Linked DNA regions of Homo sapiens: all the other regions are linked to region 2. The links are contacts of gene promoters, found by promoter capture Hi-C in human tissues and cell types (Jung and others, 2019). All regions are on one chromosome and are shown on one strand. The core of a region is centred on a gene start or on the middle of the fragment in contact, and the rest is flanking DNA. Distances in the headings are between cores, read along the strand shown.

The links. The method cuts DNA at HindIII sites, captures the fragments that hold promoters and counts their contacts. A contact is called where the count stands out against the background at its distance.
Region 1: a contact is called between a fragment that was not itself captured here and the fragment with the promoter of CTAGE1 in region 2, in 1 of the 25 tissues and cell types used here (adrenal gland).
Region 3: a fragment that was not itself captured here is called in contact with the fragment with the promoter of CTAGE1 in region 2 in 2 of the 25 tissues and cell types used here (dorsolateral prefrontal cortex and mesenchymal stem cells).
Region 4: a fragment that was not itself captured here is called in contact with the fragment with the promoter of CTAGE1 in region 2 in 3 of the 25 tissues and cell types used here (dorsolateral prefrontal cortex, mesenchymal stem cells and mesendoderm cells).

What each region holds. Positions count from the first base shown.
Region 1 is chr18:22,363,937-22,366,636 of GRCh38, forward strand. No RefSeq gene overlaps it. Among named protein-coding and RNA genes, the nearest start is that of CTAGE1, 53 kb to the right of the region's middle. The HindIII fragment of the contact is 5,109 bases long and covers 1-2,700 here.
Region 2 is chr18:22,416,658-22,419,357 of GRCh38, forward strand. It overlaps CTAGE1 (cutaneous T cell lymphoma-associated antigen 1), which reads right to left and starts at 1,258. Exons shown (of 1, transcript NM_172241.3): 1 at 1-1,258. The coding sequence starts at 1,154. It also overlaps the pseudogene ATP7BP1. The HindIII fragment of the contact is 3,989 bases long and covers 1-1,911 here.
Region 3 is chr18:22,459,031-22,461,730 of GRCh38, forward strand. The region is part of intron 2 of LOC124904260 (a long non-coding RNA gene); the gene reads right to left. Among named protein-coding and RNA genes, the nearest start is that of CTAGE1, 42 kb to the left of the region's middle. The HindIII fragment of the contact is 3,214 bases long and covers 1-2,700 here.
Region 4 is chr18:22,476,154-22,478,853 of GRCh38, forward strand. No RefSeq gene overlaps it. Among named protein-coding and RNA genes, the nearest start is that of CTAGE1, 60 kb to the left of the region's middle. The HindIII fragment of the contact is 7,194 bases long and covers 1-2,700 here.

The DNA.
Region 1 (2,700 bases), core at 198-2,697, 53 kb before region 2:
TAATTTATTTTTTTCCATAGCTCTTATCATTATCAGACATAATGTATTTCCATGAGACTGTTAGTTAATTTCCATTTCCTCCCACCAGAAGGTAAGCTGCATGAACACAGGGACTTTGTCTGATTTGCTCTCTGCTGATCCCTAGTGCCTGGATCTAGCAAGTAGTAGGGGCACAATAAGTATATATCAAGTGAATGAATGAGTTTCAAGCAGAATATACAGCTGACCCTTGGACAACATGGGTTTGAACTGTGTGGGTCCACTTACATGCAGATTTTTCTCAATAAAACTTATGCTAAGTGTGCCTGCCTCCCCTTCCACCTCCTCCTCCTCTTCCGCCTCTGCCACCCCTGACACAGCAAGACCAACCCCTCCTCTTCCTCCTCTTCTGCTACTCAACATGAAGATGATAAAAATGAAGACCTTTATGAGATCCACTTCCACTTAATGAATAGTAAATATATTTTCTCTTCCTTATGATTTTTAATAACTTTTTTCTGTAGCTTACTTTATTGTAAGAATACAGTATGTAACACATATACAAAACATGTGTTCAGCTGTGTATGTTATTGGTAAGGCTTCTGGTCAACAGTAGGCTATTAGTAGTTAAGTTTCTGAGGAGTCAAAAGTCATAGGCATATTTTCAACTGCAGGGGGTTGGGGAGCCAGTGCCCCAACCCCCACATTATTCAAGGGCTTCCTGTAAATATAAATCCAAATCCACACCTTGCCACATCAGAATGAAAACTGCAGAACATGCAGAACTATATTTTATTTATATGTATTTTTATTAATATATCATAGTTGTACTTATTTGGGGGACACATGTGATAGTTTGATACATGTATATAGTATGCAGTGATAAAATGAGGGTGATTGGGATATCAATCACCTCAAATGTTTCTCTTCTTCTTATGTTGGAAACATTACAATTCTTCTATCAATTTATAAATATGCAATAAGGTATTATTCACTATAACTTCTCAACTGCACCATTGAATACTAGAACTTATTGCTTCTATTGAGCTGTATTTTTGCATGCATTAACCAATTTCTCATCATCCTCTCTACCTGCTTTCCTCTGGTAACCACCATTCTACTCTCTCCTTTTTTTTTTTTTTTTTTTGACAAAGACTTACTCGGTCACCCAGGTTGGAGTGCAGTGGTGTGATCATAGCTCACTGTAGCCTTGGCACCCTGGGTTCAAACCATCCTCCCACCTCAGCTTCCTAAGTAGCTGGGATTACAGATGTGCGCCACTATGCCTGGTTAATTTTTTTATTTTTTTGTAGAGTTTTTTTTTTTTTGCCATGTTGCTCAGGCTGGTCTCAAACTCCTAGGTTCAAGCCATCTGCCCACCTTGGCTTCTCAAAGTGTTGGGATTACCGGTGTGAGCCACTACACCCGGCCCATCATTCTACTCTCTATCTCCAAGAGATCCACTTTTTCAGTTCCCACATAGGGATGAGAACATGCAATATTGGCCTTTCTGTGCCTGGCTTATCTCACTGAATATAATAACCTCCAGTTTCATACATGTTGCTGCAAATGCCAGGATTTCATTTTTAATGACTGAATAATATTCCTATATATATATATAAATTCCTATACATATATAAAGAAATGTATGTATATATATCACATTTTCTTTATCCATTCATCACCTTGACTATTATTAATAGTGCTGCAATAAATGTGATAGTTCAGATATCTCTTAGATGTACTGACTTCCTTTCTTTTGGATATATACCTAATAGTGAGATTGCTGGATCATATGGTAGTTCTATTTTTAGTTTTTTGAGGAACCTTTCATAATGGCTGTACTACTTCACATTTCTACTAATGGTGTAGAAGTGTTCCTCTGTCTCTGCATCCTTGCCAGCATTTGTTATTTTTTGTCTTTTTGATTATAGTCATTCTAACTGGGGTGAGATGATATCTCATTGTGGTTTTGATTTGCATTTCCTTGATGATTAGTGATGTTGAGCATTTTTTCATGTACCTGTTGGCCATTTGTATGTCTTCTTTTGAGAAATTTCTATTCGGGTCTTTTGCTCATTTTAAAACTGGATTATTTGTTTTGTTTTGTTTTTTGCTATTGAGTTGTTTGAGTTCCTTATGAATATAGATTATTAATCCTTTGTCAGATGGATAGTTTGCAAATATTGAGAACTAAAATATTAAAAGAATCCAGAGAAGAAAGACAGATTATCGACAAAGGAATGATGATTAGATTGAGAATAGAATTCTCAAAAACAATACCAAAAGATGGTGGGATATCATTAAATTGTGGAAGGCAAAAAATAATTCACCTACAATGAGTACCCAGCTAAGTTATTTAGGAGTAAAAGTAGAATGAAGCAATTGCCAATAATAAATTGGAATCCATGAAAAAGTTACTTAAAAATATACATGTATTGCCCATTTAACTCCAGTAATTCCTCCCCCAAAATCAGACATTCTAAATGAAAATATTACCAAGCCTATTTTTTATTATTTCAAATAGGAAAAATTATACTTCATTACATGATAACCCCAAACCACTAACTATTTCCTAAAATGCAAATCAATACAGTAAAATATTAACATAATAAGCAACAACCATCAAATGTTTAAATAAATAAATGCTTAACGCATCACTTCCTGAGCAGAACACAGTGAACATAGCTATTAAACACTTGTCTGGAGTAATGTCATGAT
Region 2 (2,700 bases), core at 8-2,507:
GAAAGTTTCTCTTCTTTCTCTAACCGGCATTTTTCCTCTACTATTAATTTCCTGTAGAGTTTCATTTCATTTTCTTGATATAATTCAGTCATTACTTTAAGTTTCTGCTGAAGCTTCTGATTCTCACTTTCAAAATGTGTGTTTTCTGACTGCAAAGATGCTTGTTCAGTCTGAAGATTTTTAATATGCTCTGTAAGCTCTTCCTTTGTTTTATCAACTTCAGATAATTGAATATAAATTTGGTTTCTTTCTCCTTCTAAGGTTTTTAAGGAAGCATTTAACTTAGCAGCATGAATCAGTTTCTTCAAAGCTCCTTTTGGAGGATTATCTAAGTAAGCACCATCTTCCGATTCACTGTTCATTTCTAATTCCAAGTTATCATCATCCGTTACATCTTCTTCAAGCATAGCAACCCCATCTTTCATCTTTAGCAAGCGTTCAGTCAGAGTCTTGATGTGATTTTCTTTATCATTTAGAACTTGTTCTGCATGTACTTTGGAGTCTTCAAATGTTCTTTTCTGTTTAATAAGTTCACTCACTTGTTCTTTCCATACTTCAGCTTCTTGCAAAAGCTGTTTCTGGCTTTCCTGAAGTTCAGAATTTTCTTTCCAAGCATCTTGTATTTCTATCTCCAACCGTTCTTCATTCGCTTGAAATCTCTTGAAGGTCATTTTGGCTTCAGCTACTTGTGATTTGAGGGATTTTGACTCATCTTCTAGCGACTGTATCCTTTTGGAAATATCCGCCATCAATTCATTTTGTTCAGAATGTTTAGATTTCTCTTCTTTTAACTCTTTTTCTAGACAGAGTATTTCATGCACAAGTTCAGAATTGAACCTGTTCAGCTTTTCGCAGGTTGCCTCCAAACTTTGTGCTTCTGTTGCCTCCTTCTCAAAGCTGGCATTCTTTAAAGATGACTCTACTTCATAGCCTTCATACTCTTTTTGAACAAGGCTAAATTTTTCAAGTAGTTTACATTTTTCTTCAATTAGTCCAGAAAGTGCCACAGCAAACTTTTTCTCTCTTCTCACATAAAGCCGACTCGTAACTGATCTAAAACTTCTCCACAAGAAGAGAACAGCAAAAAATCCAGCAACAGCTGCACGTATCACCAATTCCCATGGAAAACCATAAGGATGAGAATCGGGTCTCATACCTTCAGTCAGTGCTGCCACAACCCTGCGTAGCAACTCCAGGACCAGCCCCAGGTATGGCTGAGGGTTAGCCCTAGGCTCCTCCGTAGCGCCAAGGCTGCTCTGGCGGTTGCTGCAGTAACCTCGGCCACAACAAACGCTGGAGAAGACGCAGCATTCCGTTTGGAACCTGAATCCCTAACGGGCAACCGGAGCGTACCACTGCGGAGCCGGCTGCGGGGGGAGTTAGGGGACGCGGGCACCCGTAGGCCTCACAGACCCACACTGCCCACCCCGGTACCTTTGTTACACTTTACATCCTGAGGAAGCGCTAAAACCTATATTTTAAAACAGTACCACATGGTGAGAAAGACTCAGGTGACCCAGCATCCCAGCTATGCCCATCCCAAGCTGACACCCTAGCTAAATGTAGCCTTGTGCATGACCCCAGGTGGGGCGGGCAGAAGAACCTCCCAGCTGACAGAATGATAAGGAATAACAAATCATTGTTTTAAGTCACTAAGCTTTGGGGTCATTTGTTATGCAGCAGTAGCTAACTGAAATACCTGCCCCCTTATCCCTTTGGTGTTTCAGTATCTGTGGCTGAAATAATGAATTTGGGTGCTTGACTAAGATTATGCCCTATGGTAAATTCTGATAGGTAATTTTATAGCTAAAATACAAATTTTCTGATTGACCTTTGCTTCATTGAAGAGATATTTATTTAGCTCCTCCCAAATGAGACAGATTATGCTTTTTAGATTAACTTCTTCCAGGAAAGGGCTCACCACTCCCTAGCATGAGCCTCAGCTGTCCCATGTACAACTGAAAAACGCTAATCTCATCCCCAGAAGATCCAGGACTCTTAGAACAGTGCTGGCACATAGAGAGTGATTCTCTTACCTGTCCATCAAACTTACCTGCTCTGTGTCCATTTCTGAAACACTGGCACTCCTTCAACACGGATGACGCCTTGCCCTGCAATAAGTCATCATCTCCCGCCCATGCACATATCTTCAACTCATCTGGAAAGCTTGCTCCTGCAGCAATGGGTATGCCCACTAGGTTATAAATCAGCGCCAGGACCAGTTTGATGCATATCCTCTGGACAGTCATCTTGGAAATATGAATGCTAGCCACCACATCCAGCAAATCATTTTTGATGAGGATGACGTTGGCTGCCTCGATGACCACATCCGTGCCAGTGCCAGTGGCAATGCCCAAGTCTGCCTGGGCCAAGGCCAGGGAATCATTGACCCCGTCCCCCACCATGGCGACTTTCTTCCCTTCATTCAGGAGCTCCTGAACCTTGGTCACCTTGTGTGAAGGCAACACCTCTGCAAAGACTTTGTTGATGCCAACCTGGGTGGCAAAGGCTCTGACTGTCTTCCAGTTGTCCCCCGTGATCAGAATCACGTTCACATGCATGCTTTGCAGCATGTGCACAGCCAGGGCAACCTCCTGCTTGACAGTGTCTGTGACAGCCATCATTCCACAGAGCACACCTCAACAACTTGCACAAGCACCAGCTCCCTTTGCCATCTTCCGCCCGCATATTTGTATAGTT
Region 3 (2,700 bases), core at 95-2,594, 42 kb after region 2:
TCTGGCCACCACCCACTTCCCCATCCAAATGTCTTGCAGATAGCTAATTCAGAAAGCCCGGACCTGACTTAGAGATGGGTAGTATTCAAAAAGGAACACACACAGTATCTATAGATGAAAAGAGAATGAATGAAACAAGAAAAGCAAATAAATTAGGTTTAAAAAAGCTTTACAGCCGGGGGCGGTAGCTCACGCCTGTAATCCCAGCACTTTGGGAGGCCAAGGCGGGCGGATCACGAAGTCAGGAGATCGAGACCATCCCGGCTAACACCGTGAAACCCCATCTCTACTAAAAATACAAAAAATTAGCCAGGCATGGTGGCAGGCGCCTGTAGTCCCAGCTTCTCGGGAGAATGGTGTGAACCCAGGAGACGGATCTTATGGTGAGCCGAGATTGAGCACTGCACTGCAGCCTGGCTGACAGAGCAAGACTCTGTCTCAAAAAAAAAAAAAAAAAAAAAAAGCTTCACTAGAAAAATATTGCCACAAAACAGATGACATTTATGACCCAACATACTTTCATGAATTTAAAAAGAAAAGAAAAAACTTAGTGAAACAATCGCCTTTAAAAAACAGGAGCTCAAAAAAACATATACAGTAGTTTAGGAAATATTTAGCAAGACAATGGGAAGTGAAACATAAGTTGGCAGAACTTAGCAAAAATGACAACCTAGAAACCAAGACCACAGTGGAAGCAGCAGAACGGAGACTCAGATTCTGCTGGAAACTGACCATATCCAAGTCCACAAAGAACATGTTACTAAACTTCAGAAATTAGACTGAGTCCAGAAAAGCTTCTCTGATCACAAAGCAATTCATTTAAAAACTAATAATAAAATAAGGAAGGAGAAAAATTCTACCACCTGGAAATGCTAAAATATTCTTTCATGTGCAACTCTTCCATTAGGGATATATTTTTAAAAATAAAAATAATTAAGGGTTATATTTTTATAAATGAAAATAATTAAGCTAGTACATATCAGAACCTATGGGACAGAGCTAAAGCAGAATTCTGGAAAAAACTTAAAGGTTTAATATTTATATTAATTTAACTGAAAGAAAGAAAACACCTAGGTATATATTTTTTAAAGCTAACATTTTGGTAAAAAGGAATGTGAGATGTGGGCAAAAAAAAAGAGATAAAAATAATTTTGAAAAGTGTAAGAGTAAAAATTTAACACAAAGTGTAAGTCATATAAAATGTAACTTTAAAACGTTATTGAGGAGAAAAAAATGAAAGAAATGGAAAGGCATGACATATTCTTAAGTAGGAAGACTTAAAGCAAAAAATTTAACTCTCCCAATGATATCTATAAATGGAATTTGAAGCCAATAAAAATATAGGATTTTAAAAAGCTAGATAAGCTGTTACTAAAACTTATAAGAAAAATCAACAGACATTCCATGTCTGGTAATAATGGACTTAGTTATTTAGATTAATTCTTGCAGTTAAAACAATGAATATTTGGATAACATATTAAACAAACTTGATTTTAAAAGCACTGAAAAGCTGACAAGATAATCAGGACTTCCCAAGTGATTAGGTTTTGCCCTGATTGGATTTTGCCCGTGGTTGATCAGGTTAAGTTGAGTTGGCTGTGGTTTTCATGGACTCTCAGAATGAAGAATACGGAAGTCAAAGGCCAAGACTCACCCAAGGTAGGAAGGAGGGTCTCATAGGAGACTCTTGCCTCACATTAAGCTGTGAGTCTGAAGGGGTTCACCTTCAGGGTAAGGACAAACCAAAGGTGAACCTGCTCCCCTTCCCACTACCCCAGGGGACCATGGGAGAGTTACCTTGACACTAAGCAAAGCAGAGAAAAGAAAAAGAAAACCCGTCCCTGATAGGACGTCATCACTGAATCATTGGCTGGCAGTATTTGCCCATATGCTGCTCAAATACATGTCTTTGGGATGAGCCAAGAAACTTTGAGCTATGAATTTAAAGTGATACACAACTACAGTACCCCCAAGCACCTGGCAGAAGCAAGCTCTAATCATCTCTGGAGGCAGATACTTTCATCCTAGGCCTCGAGGATTTTGTATAAATGGTTTCTCAAGGGCAGTAAGCAGTACAGTTGAAGATTACTAAACTCAGAAAACAAAGCACCAATAGTTAATGTCAGCAAAATAGACAGCAGAGGCGAGTTAGACAACTGCAGCTGTTTGAATGACCAGACACAGAGTACAAAGAGCTATGTTAATTTTATTTAAATAAATGTAAGGTAAGCTTTAAAATATCTGCAAGAAATAGTCAACAATAAAAATTGACATTGTGGGTTAGAAAAAGATCAACTAGCACTTCTAAAATTAAAAATAGAGTAACAGAAATTGAAAAGTCAGTGAATGGGTATGGTGGCAGATTAGACACTGTGGAAGACAGAATTAGAGAACTGAAGATAATGTGAATAAATTATACAGAATTATAGTGCAAAGAGGCAAAGAAATGAAAAATATAGGAGAGTGGTAAAGAGACGTAGAGGACAGAGAGAGAAGGTCTCTTTTTTCCAAGATGGTCTTTCTTCTCTTTCAAAAGTGTAATTGTTATTTCAGAAGATGAGAAAAAAGTGAGGTGGTAGGTTATTGAAAGAACAATAATAACTATTAAAGATAAGTGAAAAGAAATTTGCATCAAGGCACATCACAAAGAAATTGCAGAATACATAAACAAAGAGAAAATCTAAAAAGCAGCTAGCTAGA
Region 4 (2,700 bases), core at 18-2,517, 60 kb after region 2:
GTGGCATGTCATAAAAGTTAAGGCAATTCGAAGTGTTAACAAATCCAAAATTTCTAAGGCTTAAGACAAGAGAAGTTTATTTCTTGTCCAGTCACTAATTGGTTATGAGAGCAGGAGTGCTCTGCTTCACACATAACATTCAGGAACCTGGGCTGAGAAAGGCTCTTCTGTACTCAACGTGTAACTTCCCAAGTCATCCTAGATGTCAGCAACCTGCAGGAAGACATAGGAAGAGAGCGAATGGTGAGTTTTCAATGGGAGCTTTTTATGGGCCAGGCCTGGAAAGGATGTTCCTCACTTCCACTCCTATGTTATCGGCCAGAACTCAGTCTCATGGCCACACCGAACTGAAAGGGAGGCAGTGTAGCTGTGGGCCCAGGAAGAAGGGGAAATGGGTTCTGGTGAACACAAAGCAGTCTTTGCCACCAGAAGAAACCTTGGATAAAACTGGAAACTGGTTGCTTTGTAGTGACAAAGAGATTTGAGTTAGTAAGAGGAGAGCTAGCATTTGAATGTCATATTCAGAGCAGATAAAAACCCGATTGTTGGGAGGGGGGTTAAGACGGCTGACTAAAGGTTCTGGTACTCATCACTTCCACAAAGAAGAACCAAAATTGCAAGTAGATAATCACACTTTGAATAGATCATCTAAGAGATAAAACTGGAATTCAACAGAAAAGTGTCAGGAAACATCTAAGGCAAGGAAAGAGGGGCTAAAAAAAAAAAAAAAAAAAAAGGAAGGAGAAGGAAGCCAGGCAGCTTGCTCAGCTGGGATCAGCTGGGAACCAGAAGAGGCTTCTCAATGCAGGTAAAAGGTAAGTAAGTGATCCCCAACACCCAACACTCCACATTCCCACTCTGAGCTCCTGCATTCCGAGCCATGGAAGAGCCCCTCGACTCTCCCATGCCCTGAGACAAACCTAGAGAGCTGCCTGGAAACTGCACAGTGGCATTGCGCCAGAGATGGAGCTCACATTGGGCCCCCTGCACACCTCAAGTCCTAAGCAGCTTCAGCATGGTGCCATTTTGAGAGCTCAGCCACTGCCAAACTGCATCCTGCCTTGGGGCTCAACAGCCCCTTCATCTTCACATCCCTGGAGCCCCATTGACATCCCATAGGTAGCTGCCATCATTGCTGGCTGCCTCCATTGGGGTCATTGCATGACCACTCACAGTAGCGAGACTGCTACACATAGGCAAGTGCTCTACAGACAGGCTGTTCCACCCAAAGCCACCACCTGGGGCTGAAGTTCATGCATCCCAGCTGCCTGCCTGTGGCTGCTGCCACTGAAAACAACCCTGCCCTCTCCAGCAGTGGGGATGCCACACAGTCACTGCCACCCCCACCTGAACATTCCACTAGGGGCCTGGGGATCACCCCACCCCTTCCTACTACAACCAACACCTGCATGTATCACTGGGAGGCCTGAAGAGATAACTTTACTGTGTATAGTATCCTTATCTGGCAGGTTTGTTTTCAGCACTTTGAATATATCATCCCATGCTCTCCTGGCATTTAAGGTTTCTTCTGAGAAATCCACTGTTAGTCTGATGGGGGTTCACTTGTAAGTGACTAGATGCTTTTCTCTTGCTGTTTTTAGCATTTTCTGTTTGTCTTTGAATTTTCACATTTTGACTACAATATGCCATGGAGAAGATCTTTTAAAATTGCATCTGTTTAGGGATCTCTGAGCTTCCTGTATTTGGACAGCAAAAATGCAAATATTTGATTGCCAGAAAGAAAGAAAAAAACCAAAAGAATATAAAGCTTATTTAATGAAACAACAGCTGAAAACTTCCCAAGTCTACTAAGACATTTAGACATCCAAATACAAAGTTATACTTCATAAGTGAAGGGGAAATGAAGTCTTTCCCAGGTAAACAAAAGCTGAGGGAATTCACCGCCACTAGATTAATCCCACAAGAAATGCCTAAGGGAGTCCTATTCCTGGGAGTGAAAGGACGATATCTACTACCATAAAAACACACAAAAGCGTTAATATAAAACCCACTGGTAGAGCAAACACACAAGTAAGGAATAGAAAGGATGCAAATGTTATAACCACAGAAAACTACCAAGTGACAATGATAAAACGTAAGAGAGAAAGAAAGGATATACAAAACAACCAGAAATCAATTAATAAAATGATAAAAATAAACCCTGACATATCAATAATAACTTTGAATGTAAGTGAATTAAATTTTCCATTTAAAAGATATAGAATGGCTAAGTGAAATTTTTTAAATGACCTAACTATATGCTGCCTACAAAGAAACATGTCTCACCTGTAAAGACATATATAGACTGAAAGTAAAGAGATGGAAAAGTATATTCCGTGCAAATGGAAACCAAAAGAGAGCAGGAGTAGCTACCTTTATATCAGTTAAAACAGACTTTAAGGCAAAAACAGTAAAAAGAGTAAAAGAAGGTTATTATATGATAAAGGGATCAATTCAGCAAGAGGATGTAACAATTCTAAACATACATGCATGCAGCATCAGAGCACTGAGGTATACAAAGCAAATATTATTAGATCTAAAGGGAGAGATGGAATTCAATATAAAAATAGTTGAAGAGTTCAATACCACACTCTCAGTATTAGGCAAATCATTTAGACAGAAACTTTGGATTTAAACTGCACTTTAGACCAAATGGACCTGACATATATTTACAGAACATTTCATCCAATAGCTACAGAA